2 separate regions of the Homo sapiens genome follow, and region 1 is linked to region 2. Evidence: promoter capture Hi-C in human tissues and cell types (Jung and others, 2019). All regions are on one chromosome and are shown on one strand. Each heading gives the region's core, a stretch centred on a gene start or on the middle of the fragment in contact. The rest is flanking DNA. Distances are from core to core; before and after follow the strand shown.

Region 1 (5,434 bases), core at 443-2,942, 290 kb after region 2:
CAAAAGGTTGTCCACATATAGGATTGGCTGCAAAATCCTCCACAAATAAAAGTATACCCCATGAGTGCACATAAGAGATCCCTTTTTAGTTCTATTATTCAGAGGCATGACAGTCTCAAGTTCTTGGGAAAAAGCTGTCCATATCTGGGATGCCAGCTGCTTCTGGGGAGAAACTTCCCTGATTAGCTTTACCTTAAAATCTCCAATGGGGCTGCAGTTGCTGGAGTCTGGCGATGCCCTCTTGAGCGGTGAGATAACGAACCCAGGGTTCAAAGTCCTAGAATTTCACTGCAGTGTGGGTGGCAAGGGCAGTCTTTCTGTGATACTCTCAGAAAACCAAATGTCTGGGTTCTAGATTGTGAAGCGTTTGATAGGGTCCTCAGTGGACCATGAAAAGCTTTCTGTACCTGGTGAAAATATACTTAGGCATAATGCATTAAGGCCTAGGAGCCTTTAGCCATATCGGAGTTGAGGAGTGGAAGATACATGAGGTTCTATATAGGACTTCCAGGGACTATTTCATAAGGCACCAACTTATGTTTTCCACTGGAAATGGACCCGACGGCCATCCACCTGCAACACCCTTGACCAAGGCAGCCCAGTTCATTCATTTCCCTTGCTTAATATTATTGTATCTGTAACAAGTTATTAACAGTTTTACCACTTGAGCAGTGAAACAAGTACATCTATCATGGGAGATTTCTCAAGGGACGTCCCATGAGAAAAACAATTTTCTAATAATCTTTTAGCTACTGCTATAACATCAGTGCTCTTGCCTGGGAAAGCTTCTATATAACCAGAAAACACGCATTGAAAATGACAATTGAAGGAAATCCCTCCAGCAATGTTTCAATGGCCCATCAAGTAGCAGAAGTGTAATGGAAGTTTCGATTGTCCTCCCAGGATTATGGGTTTGGCAGACCAAACATTGGTCGTAAACCATTTTAACAACTTACAACGGTCACCATGTCAAATATATATATGTATATTATATATACATATATATATAAAATTTGGATTAATTTGTCTCTTCCATGATGAATCATGGAGTGCAGAGCATTTAATAGTGGAAGCTTCAAGGACACAGGAAGGACCAGGTGGCCATCTTGGCTGTCCATGTGTCCATGCTTGATGCTGGACTTATATCTTCTTAAATACCAATTTTGTTTCTCCAGTTCAGGTGCATAGCACTGTTTATTAGAAGGGTTATCATAGGTAATTTGACTTGGACGATGGATTTAATTCAAATTGGGTATCTAAACAATATCAGTACTGGCTGATTTAGCATGAAAAGCTGGCAAAGTGTTTTCTTGGTATTCAATTAATTTTTGTCCTGCCCAGGTTAGCAATTTTATAAACCAGTCAATCTTTCCATTAGAGTTCCGGGAATTTTTACCCAGTCCAAATGACATTACACTAAAGTTATCAGAAGCCTATTCAAGAGGGCTTATCAGGGTCCTTTCTCTCCTTTCACGAACCTCCTGGAGGACTCAATATTGTAGGACTGTGTGTGTTTGTGAGTTTTCAGAAACGTCAGAAAAAAGCAATTAACTCTGGAAATGACGTAAAATGGTCATGGTTAAAGAAGAACTGACAAGGAATTTTGATTACTTCTGTGGCCTACAATAACTTAACTGTAATTAAGAGTGACAGCATATACCCGGATGTATCAGAATTTTAGGAACCCCATACAATTTTGGAGCATATATTAATGACGTATTCACAAACAATATCTCAAATAAGGTTAAACATCATTTCTTATTTGGCAGTGCTTCCCATGTAATTTAATTTATCAAATACTTCTGTCTCTCTCTTTTTTGGATACTATAGGGGCCCTTAGTAGCTCTCTCCACTGGGAAAGGCTGTTATCGTCTTTGTTTTAAACTATAAACTAAGTTTCTCCCAAAGTTAGTTCAGCCTACTCCCAGGAATAAGCAAGGACAGGAATAAGCAAGGAGGTTAGAAGCAAGATGGAAGGGCCAGGCACGGTGGCTTACGCCTGTAACCCCATCACTTTGGGAGGCCGAGGTGAGCAGATCACAAGGTCAGGAGTTCCAGACCAGCCTGGCCAATATGGTGAAACCTCATCTCTACTAAAAAAAATACAAAATTAGTCGGGCGTTGTGGCAGATGCCTGTAATCCCAGTTACTTGGGAGGCTGAGGCAGGAGAATCGCTTGAACCCAGGAGGCAGAGGTTGTGGTGAGCCAAGTTTACGCCATTGCACTCCAGCCTGGGCGACAAGAGCAAAACACCACCTCTAAAAAAAAAAAAAGGCAAGATGGAGTCAATTAAGTTAGATGTCTCTCACCGTCTCAGTCAAAGAGACAATGCAAAGGTGGTTTCAGCTTTTTCCTAAATATTATCAGATACATGTCATACAGAGAGACATATAGTCATAACAGACACAGATAGAAACAGATCTTACAGATTTCAGAAAGAATTTTCATTTGCCAGCTTTCAAATAGTTTTCTTTTCCCCCTTTAGACTATCAATCTTCTAATTACTTGTTTTATCATCCTAAGCAATCGTTAGCTAGGGAACAATTTGCCTTCAAAAAAGATAACTCTTAGGTGAAACAAGGCAGAAAATGTATATATGAAAAGCTATTTAAGCTGAGACTTTCAGCTTAAATACTGTACCATCATCATTTGCTCAACCAAGAAAAAAGCAAGGCCCAGTGAAGACAACATGGCCAGGAAAAACACGTTAAACAAAGGTAAGACTTGTTACGTAAATTTAAAACAAAGGGATGTCCCTCCCAGACGTTGCAAATGGAAATGTCTTGTGGAGATGTAAATTTCTTTCACAAAATGGTTTCAAGGTAGCCGTTGAATGTCAGAAAGGTGCATTTTAGTTATTAGGCTGGTTGAAAAGTAATTGCAAAAACCACAATTATGGCCGGGCGCGGTGGCTCACGCCTGTAATCCCAGCACTTTGGGAGGCCGAGGCGGGTGGATCATGAGGTCAGGAGATCGAGACCATCCTGGCTAACATGGTGAGATCCCGTCTCTACTAAAAATACAAAAAGTTAGCCGGGCGTGGTGGCGGGCGCCTGTAGTCCCAGCTACTCGGGAGGCTGAGGCAGGAGAATGGTCTGAACCCGGGAGGCGGAGCTTGCAGTGAGCAGAGATCGCGCCACTGCACTCCAGCCTGGGCGACAGAGTGAGACTCTATCTCAAAAAAAAAAAAAAAACACACAATTACTTTCACACCAACCTGTGGATAGGTGGTCCTTCTAATGTGGCTACTGCTTCTTAGCTGAAATTACTGAGTACAGGGTGGGACCCATTAAGGAATAAGGCAAAGAAAGGCTTCCCTCGGCCTGGGCTCAGCGTGGGTGGATCTGAAGTAAAGCCTGCTGGATCTGAGAGACCTTTTAGACACACTTCATCTAGGATAGCTTTCTGTATGGGATAGTAACCAGGCCAAAAGCTCAGCAGATTCATTTTTTCTTATCAATTGGTCACTTAAGCTTTTTCTTTGTCTTAATTAATTTATATTTATGATCTTATTTTGTCTTTATCTTATTTGACAGGGTGTTGCTCTGTCACCCAGGCTGGAGTGCAGTGGTGCCATCATAGCTCACTGCAATTGTTACAGGAGAGGGGTCCTGATCCAGACCCCAAGAGAGGGTTCTTGGATTTGGATCCTGTGCAAGAAAGAATTCAGGGTGAGTCCACGGCGCAAAGCAAAAACAAGTTTACTAAGAAAGTAAAGGAATAAAGAATGGCTACTCCATAGACCGAGCAGCCCCGAGAGCTGCTGGTTGCCCATTTTTTGGTTATTTCTTGATGAGATGCTAAACCAGGGGTGGATTACTCATGCCCCCCACCCCTGCTTTTTAGGCCATACAGGGTAACTTCCTGACGTTGCCACGGCATCTGTAAACTGTCATGGTGCTGGTGGGAGTGTAGCAGTGAGGACGACCAGAGGTCACTCTCGTCACCATCTTGGTTTTGGTGCATTTTAGCCGGCTTCTTTACTGCAACCTGTTTTATCAGCAAGGTTTTTATGACCTGTATCTTGTGCCGACCTCCTGTCTCATCCAGTGACTTAGAATGCCTGACCATGTGGGAATGCAGCCCAGTAGGACTCAGTCTCATTTTACCCAGCCCCTGTTCAAGATGGAGTCGCTCTGGTTCACACGCCTCAGACACAGCCTCTGCCTCCCGCCTCAGCCTCCTAAGCAGCTGGGACTACAGGTGAGTGCTACCGTGCCTGGCTAATTTTTTTTTTTCCGTAGAGATAGTGGGGAGCTGTGGAGCGGGGGGTGGGGGGCGGGTGTCTCACTGTATCGCCCAGGCTGGTCTCAAACTCCAGGGCTTAAGCAATCTTCCCACCTTGGCCTCTCAAAGTGCTGGAATTACAGGCATGGGCCACCTTGCCAGGCCTCATTTGCCTTTTGTGCAGACACTTTTAAAAGAGGGAGTAAAAATACTGAAATCATTTTAGAAGCTTCTTCACATCAATTGGCATCCCTGATGAGGCTAATTAGGAGCCCTTGTTTTTAGGTGCACTTCTTAAAGTGCAGTGGTGTTCACTTGGAACATCCCACCGTAATTTTCATTCACCTTTAGTAAGATGCCACCATTTCTGTAAACATCTGCCGCGTCCGGGACCTAACACGTACGGACATACGAGCCAGAAGGTGCTCGGTTTTTCAGAGATGAAGGATCCCATTTTACATTAAATCTTGGCTTTGGCTCTTAGATCCTCGTGATCAACTGAGCAATGATTTTTCCCTGCCTTAGTGTGCAAGAAAAAGAAACCAAGAGAGTAGAACACGAACATCCTTGTGAATGTCCAAAAGCTGGAGTGTGCACCTCCTGCAGCCCTGCCATTTACAGCCAGTTTCCGCCTGACCCAGTCAAGACACACAAGGCCTCTAACTGCATCCAAGCCAGTGAATGATCAAATCAGATTCCATCCTGGACCCAGTCCAGTTTCTGTCACGACTTCTGAACCCAGCTTAGATAAAAAAATTTGCTCAAGCAAACTCAGATGGCTCAAAACACACATCCATGGAGCTTTGGAATCCAAGAGAGAACTTCCCACGATCCCCAGCTGCTCTGAGAGAGCAGAGGGCACAGTGGGCCCTGTGGGTCCTCCATTGGTCAGTCAGAGCTCCTGGGGGCCGCTGGAAGCTCTACGCCAGATCCACTTCTGATGCCATCCGTTTAAAGAGAAAACTTGGCCGGGCGCAGTGGCTCACGCCTGTAATCCCAGCACTTTGGGAGGCCGAGGCGGGTGGATTGCCTGAGCTCAGGAGTTCAAAACCAGCCTGGGCAACACGGTGAAACCCCGTCTCTACTAAAATACAAAAAATTAGCCAGGCATGGTGGTGCATGCCTGTAATCCCAGCTACTCCAGAGACTGAAGCAGGAGAATTGCTTGAACCTGGTAGGCGGAGGTTGCAGTGAGCAGAGGTGGCA
Region 2 (6,175 bases), core at 521-3,020:
CTTTACAGGGGTGATTAGTTCAAACATGGACCTAATGGAGTAGGGTGGGCCCTAGTCTAATCTGTGTCCTTATGCAAAGAGATGAGGACGCAGACACACACAGAGGGATGAGTACGTGAGGATATAGGGATGGCGGCATCAGTAAGCCACGGAGGGAGGCCTCAGGAGGACCCGGCCCTGAGGCACCTCGATGGCGGATTCCGGACTCCAGACTGTGAGACAATCCACTCCTGTTGCTTAAGCCACACGGTTTGTGGAGCAGCCCTAGCAAACTCACACAGCAGGGTACGGGGGGTTCCCAAATGCCTGGGAGTGCAACTCTGTGGAAAGTGTACATTTCTCTAATCACACAGAAGTTGAAACAAAAGAATCACAATGCAAACTCGTGGGAGGTGCAGATCGTATTTATTTAGAAGATCTAGCCTAGGCACTTACAAGGCGAAGCCCTGGGGAAAGAAACAGGGCCAGGTCGGAGGTAGAAGAGGAGACTGGGCGCCCCTCCTCCTCAGGAGAGGATCCTGGGGTCTCCAATAATTCCGAGTCCTCTAGGTCAACTCCAAAAGCAATCGGAGCGGTGGCAGCTCAGGCAGGATGAAGACGAAGCGGGGAGGAGCCAGGAGGTTGCGGGGACCGGGGAGAGGCGGCAGCAGGTCGGAGGATTCCAGTGTCAGCGTGTTTCCAGCAGGCTCACAGGAGGGGCCCAGGGATGTGGGATCTTGAAGCCCTGAGAAGGTTGAAGTGGTGGGGTCAGGAAAGGAAGACGGGATTCCGGGAGGGTTGATGGGCAGGACCCAGCATGCCAGAAGCCCTCATGACCTCAGAGGCTGAGCGGCTGAGTACTGAGCCCTGGACGCTAGGCTGCCTTAGTCCAGAGGAGGACAGATTCAGAGACGTGCTTCAGGAATTCAGGACACAGCTGCAATCATTCCTGGAGAGCCCGGATCTGTAGGACCCACTGAGGTTTGTGGGCAGAGCCTCAGATCTTGCACTGGCAGCAAATTGGGACACAGCAGCTGGACTGGGAGGAGCAGGGCTTGCAGCAGCTGGACTGGCAGCAGGATGACCCACAGCCTGAGGAGCAGCAGCAGGGCTTACAGCAGCTGGACTGGGAACAGCAGGGTTTGCAGCAGCTGGACTGGCAGCAGGATGACCCACAGCCTGAGGAGCAGCAGCAGGGCTTACAGCAGCTGGACTGGGAACAGCAGGGCTTACAGCAGCTGGACTGGGAGCAGCTGGGCTTGCAGCAGCTGGACTGGCAGCAGGATGACCCACAGCCTGAGGAGCAGCAGCAGGGCTTATAGCAGCTGCACTGGGAGCAGCCACAAGAACCGCAGCCCCCCTTGGAGCCCCCACGAAATCCACAGACCCCCTTGGAACCCCCACAGGAGCCACAGCTGGAGGAGCAGCAGACGGGCACACAGCAGCTGGAGCCACAGCCCCCCTTGGAGCCTCCACAGGAGCCACAGCCCCCCTTGCAGCCCCCACAAGAGCCACAGACCCCCTTGGAGCCCCCACAGGAGCCACAGCTGGAGCAGGAACAGGCTGGCACACAGCAGCACACGGGCTTGCAGCAGCAGACAGGTACACAGCAGCCGGAGCCACAGCCCCCATAGCCGGAGCCACAGCCCCCACAGCTGGAGCCACAGCCCCCACAGCTGGAGCCACAGCCTCCAGAGCAGCCAGAGCAGCCCATGGTTCTGGTGGGTTGAGGGTGGAGCAGGTAGAGGAGCAGGTGAGAGGGAGGTGTGCAGGTGTGGAGTTCTCTGAGCCCGGGCTCTTTATATTCCTGCCCAGGTGTTTATACTGAACACGTGAATACTTCTGTTGTTGTTTCTGCTATTTCACATGCACAAGTGTTATTTTTAATCTCTCCACAATCCCATGAGCCACCATCAGCTCAAGCCAAGCTGTCCTTTCCTTGGTTTCTAAATTTGGCCTCTTCCTCATAGGTGTTTCCCTTTGTTAGAAGACACTGGGCTCCCTCTCCAGTGGGTGTCCCAGGAGCCTGGGAGGCGGTGGTTGCTTGGCCGAAGGGTGGACCATTGTCCTTGGTGCTCAGGGCTCTCCTCAGCGATGCAGACCCTCCACCCCCTGGCATTGGTGTTTATATCAAGGATGGTCATTTGGTAAAAAATAAAATAAAATAAAAATTAAAAAAATAAGCTGAAAGAAAGGCTGTCTATAGGTTCCACCGCTTAAAAACTTCAAGTATAAATATTTTGTCAAATCTGTAAAACAAAGTTTTGAAGAGCATGGATTTGAGTGTGGCCCTGGTTCTCCTTTGTCTTTCTTACCTCTTCCTCCTGCGGTTTGGCTCACTCCTCCAGACACGGATTAGACCCACGTTCCCTTCAGGCAAGCTGGGCTCACAGAGGGAACAGAGGAACAGGACCCTTTCTAATGCTTTTGAGTTTTCCTCTATTAATTCTTTGTAAAAATTCTACAAATCAATGGATATTCTTCAAGTTTATTCTTCTTGAAGGCTACAAAAATTTTGATTAGCCAACCTCTCTAACACACTTTTATTTTCTAAAAGATTAATTTTAATATTTTTTTTTTGAGAAGGAGTATCGCTCTTGTCACCAGGGCTAAAGTGCAGTGACGCAATCTCGGCTCACTGCAATCTCTGCCTCCTGGGTTCAAGCAATTTTCCTGCCTCAGCCTCCCCAGTAGCTGGAATTACAGGCGCCCACCACCAGGCCTGGCTAATTTTTTTGTATTTTTAGTGAAGACAGAGTTTCACCATGTTGGGCAGGCTGGTTTCGAACTCCTGACCTCAGGTGAACCACCCGCCTCAGTCTCCCAAAGTGCTGGGATTACAGGTGTGAGCCACTGCACCCAGCCAAATTTTAATTTTTTATTAAGGTAAAATTTACATGCAGTGAAAAAAAATTTTTTTTCTGAGTCTCCCTCTGTCACCCAGGCTGGAGTGCAGTGATGCAATTTCAGCTCACTACAACCTCTGCCTCCCGAGTTCAAGCAATTCTCCTGCCTCAGCCTCCCAAGTAGCTGGGATTACAGGCACCCACCACCACACCCAGCTAATTTTGTATTTTTAGTAGAGACGGGGTTTCACTATGTTCGCCAGGCTGGTCTCGAACCCCTGACCTCAGGTGATCCACCTGCCTTGGCCTCCCAAAGTGTTGGGATTACAGGCATGAGCCACCAGGCTTGGGCTGCATTTTTTTTTTTTTTTTTTTGAGACGGGGTCGCATTCTGTCGCCCGGGCTGGAGGGCAGTGGTGTGATCCTAGCTCACTGCAGCCTTGGTCTCCTGGGCTCTGCACATATTTTGAGTGTACAATTCCATGAGTTCCGCTAAACATGTACTCGTGTGCCCATCACTCCAACCATGACCAACTGCTTCACCCCCAGAAGTTTCCCTTTCGCCGCCTTCCCTTCCTGCCCATCGCTCCAGGCACAGCTCTGCTGACCAGTTGTGCCTGTTGTTGAATGTTGCAAAAATGAAATCATTAAAAATGTACTCTGGTTTCTTTCCCTCACGATGTTATTCTGTGTGTCAATGATTTGCTCTTCTTCTTTTTTTTTTTTTTTTTTTTTTTTTGAGACAGGGTCTTGCTCTGTCACCCAGGCTGGAGTGCAGAGTGGTGCGCTCATGGCTCACTGCAGCCTCGACCTCCTGGGCTCAAGCGATCCACCTGCCCCAGCCTCCCAATGTGCTGGGATTACAGGCATGAGCCACCACGCCTGGCCTTCTTCTTCTTTTGTAATCACCGCATAGTGTTTCTGTAGCAGGGCGAGCCGCAGACAAGAACCCCTCAGACACTGAATTGTAGAAGGAAAGGGCTTTATTCAGCTGGGAGCATTGGCAGACTCAGGTCTCCAAAAACCAAGCTCCCCAAGTGAGCAATTCCTGTCCCTTTTAAGGGCTTACAACTCTAAGGGGGTCTGTGTGAGAGGGTCGTGATCGATTGAGCAAGCAGGGGGTACGTGACTGGGGGCTGCATGCACCGGCAATCAGAACGGAACAGGACAGGACAGGGATTTTCACAATGCTTTTCCATACAATGTCTGGAATCTATAGATAATATAACCGATTAGGTCAGGGGTCAATCTTTAACTACCAGGCCCAGGGTGTGGCACCGGGCTGTCTGCCTGTGGATTTAGTTTTTACTTCTTTTTTCTTTGGAGACAGAAATTGGGCATAAGAAAATATGAGGGGTGGGGCCCCCCTTATTCCATGTAAAAATATTCTCCACTGCGTTCCCCCGTTCTCACGTTCATACATATTTGAATCGTTCACAGTTTGGGGCGATGATGAATAACACATAATCATGCCTTCCAGTCCTTCCGTATTCATGTTTTTAGTTTTAATTTTTTGGTCAAATATTGAGGACTGGCCTTGCTAGACCATAGAGTAGTGTATGCTTAACTTGCTAAGAAACAGACAGCTTTCCAAATGCTCATGCTGCTTTCCCCCTCCCCAGCAATGCCTGAGAGTGTCCGCTGCCCCAGGCCTGTCAGTACCAGCCAGCGGCTTTTCAAATGTGAGGCATCGGATGGGTGTAAAATCGCATCTCGTGTGCATTTTGACCTGTGTTTCTCTGATGACTAATGTTCGCAAGGATTCTTTCTTGCACTTATTGGACATTTGCACATCTTTCTTGTTAAAAAGTTTTGCTAAAATTGTTTGCCCATTTTATTGTGATTTTTTTTTGTCTTTTTGTTATTGAGTTGTTGGAACTCTTCATAAATTCTATATCAAGAATGAATATGTGAAGTGCTTTGCCATATGTACGTATATATATTTACATATATATTTCATATACATGTGTATATGTGTGTATATAATATATATATGTAGAATATATATATTGTATATAATTTTCTAGTATTTGACTTGCCTTATTGTTATCTGAACTTTTTATATGGAAATGTTTTTGATTTTGAAGTCCACGTTAACATTTGTTTTGACAGCTAGTGCTTTCTTGTGACCTCTTTGAAAACCCTTTTTCCTAGCATTTCCTTTAGAAGCATTAGAGTTTTAGTTTCTATATTTAGTTCTATGATGGATCTCAAGCTAATTTTTGCGTGTAATGTGAGGTAGGAGTTGAGATCCATTTTTTCACATTTTCATCCAATTGTTTCAGCAGCATTTGATAAAAAGACCTTCCTGGCCAGGCGCAGTGGCTCACGCCTGGAATCCCAGCACTTTGGGAGGCCAAGGAGGGCAGATCACCTGAGGTCAGGAGTGCAAGACCAGCCTGGCCAACATGGCAAAACCCTGTCTCTACCAAAAATACAAAAATTAGCCAGACATGGTGGGGGGCGCCTGTAATCCCAGCTACTCAGGGGACTGAGGCAGGAGAATCGCTTTAACCCGGGAGGTAGAGGCTGCGGTGAGCCGAGACTGCAGCACTGCGCTCCAGCCTGGGTGACAGAGTGAGACTCTGTCTCGATATAAACAAACAAACAAACAAACAAACCGTGCTTATCCCACTGAAATCACTGGTGTTTTTAATGAGAATCAGCCGACACGATGGCGAGTTTCTTCCTGTGTCCCGCTCCGCAGGTCTGTATGCCGCTTCCTAATGCAAACACAGCGTCACTGTGACATTATGGGAGGTTTTGAAGTTAAGTATTGTGAGACTCCAACTTCATTCTTCTTTTTAAAGATTGTTTTGTTTGTTTCCAATTCCTTTACTTCTCCAGCTAAATTTTAGAACCAACTTGATCATCTCAAATACCAAAAAACCCGTTGCTGTTGCAATAGACAGCTGAGGCACGGGAAAGACCCTGGAGAGAGCCCCTGTGCCATGTGGGCAATTGGAGAAGGCTGAAGGCTGAAGCTGGAGTTCTAAGACTGGGAAATGCCTGCTCACTCCAGCCCCCACCCCCATCACCAGACTATGGAGCCCGTGGGAACAAAGGTAACTGCACCCACCAAGTCTTTGTCTTTCCTCTTTTCTTTTCTTTCTTTCTTTTTTTTTTTTTTTTGAGACGGAGTCTCGCTCTGTCACCCAGGCTGGATGCAGTGGCCCGATCTCGGCTCACTGCAAGCTCCGCCTCCCGGGTTCACGCCATTCTCCTGCCTCAGCCTCTCTGAGTAGCTGGGACTATAGGCGCCCGCCACCACGCCCTGCTAATTTTTTTTTTTTTTTTTTTGTATTTTTAGTAGAGACGGGGTTTCACCGTGGTCTCGATCTCCTGACCTC

Evidence for each region. Contacts are between HindIII fragments. The study calls those that stand out against the background at their distance.
Region 1: a contact is called between a fragment that was not itself captured here and the fragment with the promoter of KRTAP5-3 in region 2, in 2 of the 25 tissues and cell types used here (heart left ventricle and liver).

Annotation. Positions count from the first base shown.
Region 1 is chr11:1,899,053-1,904,486 of GRCh38, forward strand. It overlaps LINC01150 (long intergenic non-protein coding RNA 1150), which reads left to right. Exons shown (of 4, transcript NR_120534.1): 2 at 3,538-3,672; 3 at 4,052-4,204. It also overlaps a transcript of PRR33 not described here. Among named protein-coding and RNA genes, the nearest start is that of LINC01150, 5.0 kb to the left of the region's middle. The HindIII fragment of the contact is 4,546 bases long and covers 1-3,965 here.
Region 2 is chr11:1,606,693-1,612,867 of GRCh38, forward strand. KRTAP5-3 (keratin associated protein 5-3) reads right to left here and starts at 1,771. Exons shown (of 1, transcript NM_001012708.2): 1 at 873-1,771. The coding sequence starts at 1,693. The coding sequence ends at 977. The HindIII fragment of the contact is 8,426 bases long and covers 1-6,175 here.